Linked DNA regions of Homo sapiens: region 1 is linked to region 2. The links are contacts of gene promoters, found by promoter capture Hi-C in blood cells and fetal thymus (Javierre and others, 2016). All regions are on one chromosome and are shown on one strand. Each heading gives the region's core, a stretch centred on a gene start or on the middle of the fragment in contact. The rest is flanking DNA. Distances are from core to core; before and after follow the strand shown.

Region 1 (4,330 bases), core at 767-3,266, 1.0 Mb after region 2:
ATTAATACTATCACATTGGCAATTAACTATCAACATAAGAATTTTGGGGAACACATTCAGACCACAGCAGTTTCTAAGAGGAGGTAGAAATCCAATGTATCAAATAGTGTTGAGAAATCATATAAGTTGAGGACTAACATAGCCATTTCAACTAGTGAAATGTAAAAGATCAGTTTAAGTGGAGTGTTGAAGAAGAAAGCAAGATGAAGGAGTGTAATAAAGAAATGAGATGAAAGAAGATTTGGGTTTGATGACACTTCAAGGAAATATGGCTATAAACTGAAAGACAGTACTATCAATAGCAGAAAGGAAAAGTGAAAGCAAGAGAACAATTCTTTCAGATGAAAGAAATAAAAGCAGCTTTGAATGCTGATGCGAAAGATCCTATAGAGATCAAATAGAATTTTATTTAATAATACAGGAGAAAGAGGAAAATATTGCTGGAACTATGCCCTTGAAAGAAAGAGGGCTTTTAATTATTTCTTACAGAAAATTTAGAAATTCAGAAGTAGAAGAGTGCATGGCATTGGTAAAGGTAGAACTGGTAGGTTCAACTGTGCCAGCCTGTCTCTTATTCTTCCCAGAATCACTGTAGTGAATGTGTCAGATGAAATCTTCAAAATGGCCTTCCAAAATAAGCACAAGGAAAGAGGCCTTTTTCTAGGCCTATGACATCAAAGATACAGCTTTTCCCTCTTTTTATGGAGAAGCACATGCAGATCAACCCAATTTCCAAAAACATCCCAGCAGAAAATGCTGAAAAGCACTTTCATTCACAGCAGCTTTCTAAATGGGGTTGGGGAAGGCCCTAAGCAAAGGAAAAGGAAAGATCTAACTCAAAGAGACTTGAGACAGAGGCAGCTTGCATTTCCTTCTTACTGGCTGCATTTTCTTTGATGGAGCTCATGTCTTTGAGACTGAGAAAGCCCTTAGGTCACTTCCCTGATCAAACAAATTAATGTTAGGGCTGGGTGCGGTGGCTCATGCCTGTAATCCCAGCACTTTGGGTGGCGGAGGTGGGCGGATCATAAGGTCAGGAGATCGAGATCATCCTGTCTGAAACAGTGAAAACCCGTCTCTACTAAAAATACAAAAAATTAGCCAGTCGTGGTGTCACGCGCCTGTAGTCCCAGCTGCTCAAGAGGCTGAGGCAGGAGAATCACTTGAACCCAGGAGGCGGAGGTTGCAGTGAGCCAAGATCGCACCACTGCCCTCCAGCCTGGGCGACAGAGCGAGACTCCATCTCAAAAAATAAAATAAAATAAAATAATAATAATAATAATAATAATAATAATAATAATAACAATGATGCTAGGAAACAGGTAATTCTTCATTCAGTAAACCTATTAGTAATTAGAATACTTTTGTGTAATCCAGACAGAGGAAAGGAGATAAAGAAAATTTTAGGAAATTAAGCACATTATTTTGGCTCTGCTGAGAAGCTTTATTATGGATAGCTGCAGGGGTAATTTTGAACTCCCTTCATTTTTAAATTTATTATTATTATTTTAGAGGGAGGATCTTGCTCTGTAGCCCAGGCTGCAGTGCAGAGGCACAATCATAGCTCACTGCAACCTCAAACTCCTGGATTCAAGTGATCCTCCTGCCTCAGCCTCCCTTGTAATGGGGACTACAGGCATGCACCTCTGTGCCTGGTTAAATTTTTTTATTTTTTTTGTAGAGACAGGGTCTCACTATGTTGCCCAAACTTGATTCAAATTCATGGCCTCAAGCAATACTCCTGTCTTGACCTCCCAACCTTTCTTTAAATTATTACCAATCTTTTCCCATCAAAGGTCAAAAGGCAAGCCTGCTGAACTAGGCCAGATGCTGCTGGGAGAAGTTGCTTTCATAGAGCTTTGGATGGTAGTCTCTGCCCACCCATTCATTCATTCTGCAGCCAAACTATATTGATAAAGAACCTACCAAATGGGGAGCCCTAGTGATAGATTATTGAACAAAATAGATATTCCTCGTCTTGGGGCATATGGAGCGGGAGGATGGAGGCTGACATTAATCAAATAACTCTGGTATTATACATTACAAACTGATATAAGAGCACTAAAGGAAAAGTGAAAAAGAATCAAGTGGCCGGGCATGATGGCTCACGCCTGTAATCCCAGCACTTTGGGAGCCCGAGGCGGGTGGATCACTTGAAGTCAGGAGTTATAGATCAGCCTGGCCAACATGGTGAAACCCCCTCTCTAATAAAAATACAAAAATTAGCCCTGCGTAGTAGCTTACGCCTGTAATCCCAGCTACTCGGGAGGCTGAGGCAGGAGAATCGCTTGAACCCGGGAGGTGGAGGTTGCAATGAGTCGAGATTGTGTCATTGCCCTCCAGCCTGGGCAACAGAGCGAGACTCTGAGAAAAAAAAAAAGAAGAAGAAAGAGAAAGAAAGAAAGAAAAGGAAGGAAGGAAGAAAGAGAATGAGAGAGAGAGAAAGAAAGAAGGAAGGAAAGAAGAAAAGAAAAGAAAGAGAGAGGGAAGGAGGGAGGGAGAGAGGAAGGAAGGAAGGAGGGAAAGAAGGGAGGGAAGGAAAAAAAAAAAACCAAGGAACCATGTGTTGCGTGGAGACGGGAGGTCAAGAAAAGCTTCCTTGATTTGAAAAGCTTTCTTGAGTTGAAGCTGAAGCATTAAACAAATTTAACCAGGTAAAGAGAAGAGGCCGGGCGCGGTGGCTCACTCCTGTAATCCTAGCGCTTTGGGAAGCCGAGAGGGGCGGATCAGTTGAGTTCAGGAGTTTAAGACCAGAATGATTTTACAGAAAGAAAATCATTTGGTATCAAGGGGAAAACACGACCAGGACCTTGACTCTAGAGGCTACGTTCCTAAAACAGCAAGCGGGGCAGGAGGGAAGTCCCACGGAGCTTTGGAGCCACAGGAGAGGCACTTTTATCTCCCTCTTCTGGCAAACTAGGTATGAAAGGGAGAAAGAAATTTCACTCTGAGGTGCGAGCGCCGCCGGACATTTCCTGACGGCTCAGGTGGGCAGGCTGAGTGCGCGAGCGCCTCACTGGCTTCTCATAGGTACCTGGGTCAGGACGAAGCCACATAGTTCCTCGTGATGAGAAACTCACTTCTGGCACCTGTCGAGATGCCAGATTCCATGCCAAGCCCCCGAAGATTCTGACTAGTTTGGCAAAAAATGGGATCTGGCAGGTCCACTTCAAAGCAGCGCCCTCTTCCTTTTGTTGCCAAAGATCTGAGGACCACACTGCTAAACTGAGCAAGAAACATGCGTGGGTTGGAGATAGAAGTGAGAATAATGAGTTTACAAGCACAGTATTACCAACCCCCAAAAACAACCACCACGCTGGGAAAATTCCATATAATGAAACTTAATGTGTTACCTTTGGCTTCTTTGCCATAAGCAAAATATTGGGGACGGGGAGTGGATAAGGAAGTAAACTGGGTAGGTGTGTAAATAAGGACGAAAGACTGCACCATTCTTTAGATGACAAAAACAGACGTTTCTGGGAAATAAGCAAAGGAAGAGCCCCACAAGCAGCGGCCTCTGGTGGCGTGCCGTGATCGTATAGTGGTTAGTACTCTGCGTTGTGGCCGCAGCAACCTCGGTTCGAATCCGAGTCACGGCAGTACCTTGATGTCGCCTCAATTTCTCAACGTACTGAGCAGTACCTTGACGTCGCCTCAATTTTTCAACATACTGGAGTGGAGACAGTCTCGGAAAAACCCTTGCAAAATTGAATTGACTTACGATCTAATCTGTACACAAAAAACACTAGTATTCATCATGGTGCCCCAACCAGTCAGCCAAGCAGAGAGTGTCTACGCTTGTTGCCTTGTCTTTTTTTTCCCCTCTCCAAAGATTCTCTTCCCAACCCTACCCAAGCCCTACAGTCTTGTTGGCATTGGCTGTATGTGAAGAAACTGAGGTAATTTTTTTTTAATGGAAAACTTTTACTTTCAAACACTGGTAGGCATGAGGAAAGGACTGTTCAAAAGGGGATCCAGGTTTGTTGTGGAGATCTTTCTTAAAACACAAAAGACAAATTATTAATCACGCGTTTCTAAGTATCCTAGCTGGACCAATGCTGAAAAACTGTAACCTTTGATCATCTGGAGAAAATTAAAGAAATTTGAGTAATTGAAGGAATTTGGGTGGGGGGGAATAATGGCCCAGAAGAACAGCCCCCATTTCTAGCCCGTTCAGTTTCTAGAATGAGTTCTAAAGAGCCAAGTAGACTGGGTGAGGCGGGAGTGGAGGAGAGCTGATCTGAGATACGGAGGTGGCTGGAAAGAAGTAGTTGGTGCTACCTAGGACCAGTAGGAGGTGGCTGGAGACAGGCAGATCCCCAGAGGCGCT
Region 2 (4,624 bases), core at 1,465-3,964:
TTGATTTCATAGTGGTCAATCCTCAATCTCTGTCACCAAGGCTCGAGAGCACGTTCACTGCAACCTCCGCCTTCCTGGTTCAAGGGCTTTTCCTGCCTCAGCCTCCCGAGTAGCTGGGATTACACCACCACACCTAACTATTATTATTATTATTATTATTATTATTATTATTATTTTATTTTAGCAGAGATGGGGTTTCACCTTGTTGGTCAGGCTGGCCTCGGACTCCTGATCTCAAGTCATCCATTCGCCTCAGCATCTCAAAGTGCTAGGATTACCGGCGTGAGCCACCTCTCCCAGCCCATGCATTTGGAGGCAGAGGCAGTGGTTGCAGTGAACCAAGATCGCGCCATTGCACTCCAGCCTGGGTGACACAGTGAGACTCTGTCTCAAAAAAAGAAAAGAAAAGTAAAGTAAAGAAAACACACCACACCTTAAGGAGGCAAGCAGTGGAAGTTGAAAGACCACAGAATTTGGAGAGTTTAACTCCTTCCTAGCCATGAGGAATACACTGGATAAAGTGAGGCATGTGAAAGCAAACTTCCATGTGTTGTGTAAGTTTCAGTCATTTACAGGAGTGGTTTTTGTTGTCATTAAATAGGTATAATATTACCATTCTGGAATCAAATGCCCATATAATCAGTTTCCCTAGTCTGTTTTGGAGATTTATCCATCTCCCTTTTTATTTCAATAAATACCAAAGGGCATATTTATTTTTGCACTGATGTGCAATAATTAGATTGAAAATACACATCAAGATATTAAAAACATTGATAATTTACATCACTTTTATAACAAATTCAACATTAAACAGTACTGTTTTGATACATTTCACTCGTGTTATATCAAAATTCTATATTCTCCTTATTTCAGTAGCAGAATTTGTGTCTGGAGATTTTGGGCAATGAAATTAAAATTTAAAATGATATCCAACGCCATATTACAATCAACCACGTCCACAGAACAGTATCATATCACCTTATAGCACTGGGCAAAATTTTATTTTGTTTCCATGATAAGTGGCTTGTAGTTCCACCCATACTGTTCCAGCCATATCGTTTTTCAGAAAAAATTCTTTTTTTTTTTTTTTTTGAGACGGAGTCTTGCTCTTTCGCCTAGGCCTGACTGCAGTGGCACTATCTAGGCTCACTGCAAGCTCCGCCTCCCGGGTTCACGCCATTCTCCTGCCTCAGTCTCCCGAGTAGCTGGGACTGCAGGCGCCCGCCACCGCACCCGGCTAATTTTTTGTACTTTTAGTAGATACAGGGTTTCACCGTGTTAGCCAGGATGGTCTTGATCTCCTGACCTCGTGATCCGCCCGTCTCGGCCTCCCAAAGTGCTGGGATTACAGGCGTGAGCCACCGCGCCCGGACCAGAAATAATTCTTTTGGTTGGGCTTTCATTGCCAGCTTACATACACTCTTCTTGATTGGGCAACTACCTAAAGAAATTCACTCAGACATTGTTCAAAGGATGTTTTCAGAGGGCAATGATTTATAATAGCTTAGATAGACTCTCAAAGCTCTACTTCTGAGATCGAAATTTGAACTTGTCGTTTAATCACTACATGTCACTTATTTTTCTTTCTATTGAGCTCTGGGAAGCATTGGAATACAATCTTCAGGGGGATTGAAACCATACGTGGTGAGTGGACTAGTCATTCCTCAACTATTCAGTAATAATAGGGGCTGGGTTTCACTAATAATGGGAGTAGATGTTTCAATCTACGTTTCTTATTTATTTTGCCTTATCATCAATGCTTGAATTTCAGCTCTAAGCTACTTTATTGCAATTTGGTTCTGAAGCATATGCCAAAAGCACTCAGCAAGGCTGCAGACAAATGCTTTAAAGTAAAGTGCACCTCCACTTCCAGTGACTTTATGAACATCACATTTGAAAATTAATCCTTTTTCATCTCTGTACCCTGAGTACATTTTGGACTTCCCTTCGTTCCCAAATACCCTGAATTCAAGGTATCTCAATCCATGGAGCAATTGTCCAGAGGAAGAGAGAAGCAACAGCCCCGCCCCCAACCCTTGGGAGCAGAAAGGGAAAGAATTATCCAAAGAATTGTTTAAAAACTCAGATGTAGCGGACAGATGTAAAACCATGGCTGTATAGATTGATGTCCCAGGGGTCCAAAACTTAATCTCAAATGGGCAATAATTTGTTTGGCATTAAACTAAACCAGTTTGATGAACTCAAATGCCCTCGGCTCAATAGGCAGGACTCTCCGAGGAGCCTGTGTTACTTCCCTCACTTAAGTGCAGATTTGTAATAAAAATCTTAATGCCAGTGGCATGCTTTTTGGATATATAAGAAGCTAACCACTTGGAGTATCATATTTGAGAGGTCAGAAAAGTCCACAGTTAAAGATCGGTTTATAATTTACGAAGAAAATAGAAAGTTTTGTTTCTCTGAGTTGAAATTTGCCAAGCACGGCGGGAAATATTGCAAGTTTTTGGCACAAGGCTTTGTGCTTCCCTTATAATTTGAGATCTGCGTGAAGCCTGAGGGTTCGGGGATCATTATCTGAGAAAAACCGGGCAGTTCGGTGTAGACAATTTTTATATTTTTGGCTTTTTTTGAGGTGTAACAAACACAACTCGGGATCCGAGAGGACACTCTGCGGCTGCCAGCGAGGCGGGCTGGACAGCGCACCAATCACGGCGCAGCTCCGCCCTATATAAACGGGCGGGCGCAGCGCCGCGGCTCGAGTCCCGGCCAGTGCCTCTGCTTCCGGCTCGAATTGCTCTCGCTCACGCTTGCCTTCAACATGTCCGAGACTGCGCCTGCCGCGCCCGCTGCTCCGGCCCCTGCCGAGAAGACTCCCGTGAAGAAGAAGGCCCGCAAGTCTGCAGGTGCGGCCAAGCGCAAAGCGTCTGGGCCCCCGGTGTCCGAGCTCATTACTAAAGCTGTTGCCGCCTCCAAGGAGCGCAGCGGCGTATCTTTGGCCGCTCTCAAGAAAGCGCTGGCAGCCGCTGGCTATGACGTGGAGAAGAACAACAGCCGCATCAAGCTGGGTCTCAAGAGCCTGGTGAGCAAGGGCACCCTGGTGCAGACCAAGGGCACCGGCGCGTCGGGTTCCTTCAAACTCAACAAGAAGGCGGCCTCTGGGGAAGCCAAGCCTAAGGCTAAAAAGGCAGGCGCGGCCAAGGCCAAGAAGCCAGCAGGAGCGGCGAAGAAGCCCAAGAAGGCGACGGGGGCGGCCACCCCCAAGAAGAGCGCCAAGAAGACCCCAAAGAAGGCGAAGAAGCCGGCTGCAGCTGCTGGAGCCAAAAAAGCGAAAAGCCCGAAAAAGGCGAAAGCAGCCAAGCCAAAAAAGGCGCCCAAGAGCCCAGCGAAGGCCAAAGCAGTTAAACCCAAGGCGGCTAAACCAAAGACCGCCAAGCCCAAGGCAGCCAAGCCAAAGAAGGCGGCAGCCAAGAAAAAGTAGAAAGTTCCTTTGGCCAACTGCTTAGAAGCCCAACACAACCCAAAGGCTCTTTTCAGAGCCACCCACCGCTCTCAGTAAAAGAGCTGTTGCACTATTAGGGGGCGTGGCTCGGGAAAACGCTGCTAAGCAGGGGCGGGTCTCCCGGGAACAAAGTCGGGGAGAGGAGTGGGATTTTGTGTGTCTCCGGAGCTATTTTTGACTAAGGCGTCGCGTCGCCCAAGCCGGAGTGCAGTGGCGTCATCTCGATTTTGCGTTCTCGAGTGTCGGAGTTGAACCCATTTGGGCCTCCCTTGTGCTTTGCACTTTTAGCAGGCCCTGGCCTCCAGATAGCATGGGAAAAAAAATGTTGGGATTTTCCCGGGTTTCTAAGCTGGGTTTTTCCGAGTTCCAAACACGGCACAGTGTATCAGTTTCTGTGCTGGTTACAAGCCTACTGGTTATCCCTATCGAGTATGGCAGGCAGTGAGGGACTTCAGAGGAGTACGTCTTAGGACAAGTGGCATAGTACTGACATTATTTCCGAAGGGCTACATTTCAAGTGCTTGGGGAGACTACTGCCACATAACTGAAAATTAGAAACCGACACTGCAGAAAAATACTTGGTCCTTAAATGTGGCATTTGGATGGATTAAGGACTTGCCGAAACGTAAAACTGACAGACTTGGGGGGGGGGGATGTCCCAATTAGCACGGCTTCTGTATGCAACGAGTCCCATACTTTGTTAAAGGAAGAAAGGAATGTGAGTTCTCCTAATCTGTTAAGTATCTTTCGGTGTAAGTTCTGACACCACAATGTTAAAAAAGTCGGATCTCAAAAACCAACTGCTCCAAGCGAAGTGCACAGCTGTCTTGCCTAAAGAGGCCTATTTATAGTAGCCTCGGGTAGTCTGGTCTGGGCTTTCTCATTGGGTACAAGTAAAGGAACGAAATAGCCAATGAAAAGGTAGACTTTTAAGTGTCGTTTACATTGGCATTTGTGACGACACTCTAAAATTAATCCAATCATAAACGAAATCTGATTAACCTCATTTGAATACCGCATCTATAAATGAACAGGGCCTCGGCGGGAGTGATTATTTTCTCAGGTGTTTGCAACAGTGTTCTAACTATTAACGCTACGATGCCTGAACCTACCAAGTCTGCTCCTGCCCCAAAGAAGGGCTCCAAGAAGGCGGTGACTAAGGCTCAG

The links. The method cuts DNA at HindIII sites, captures the fragments that hold promoters and counts their contacts. A CHiCAGO score of 5 or more calls a contact.
Region 1: a fragment that was not itself captured here is called in contact with the fragment with the promoter of H1-4 in region 2 in 11 of 17 cell types (total B cells, naive B cells, activated CD4 T cells and 8 more); the score reaches 19.2 in total B cells.

Annotation. Positions count from the first base shown.
Region 1 is chr6:27,154,600-27,158,929 of GRCh38, forward strand. TRH-GTG1-5 (tRNA-His (anticodon GTG) 1-5) reads left to right here and starts at 3,528; the gene lies at 3,528-3,599. RefSeq lists a silencer at 3,639-3,688. The HindIII fragment of the contact is 1,152 bases long and covers 1,441-2,592 here.
Region 2 is chr6:26,153,615-26,158,238 of GRCh38, forward strand. H1-4 (H1.4 linker histone, cluster member) reads left to right here and starts at 2,715. Exons shown (of 1, transcript NM_005321.3): 1 at 2,715-3,501. The coding sequence starts at 2,777. The coding sequence ends at 3,436. H2BC5 (H2B clustered histone 5) reads left to right here and starts at 4,508. Exons shown (of 1, transcript NM_021063.4): 1 at 4,508-4,624. The coding sequence starts at 4,556. RefSeq lists enhancers at 2,443-3,194, 2,719-2,878, 3,139-3,218, 3,948-4,624 and a silencer at 3,509-3,558. The HindIII fragment of the contact is 19,818 bases long and covers 1-4,624 here.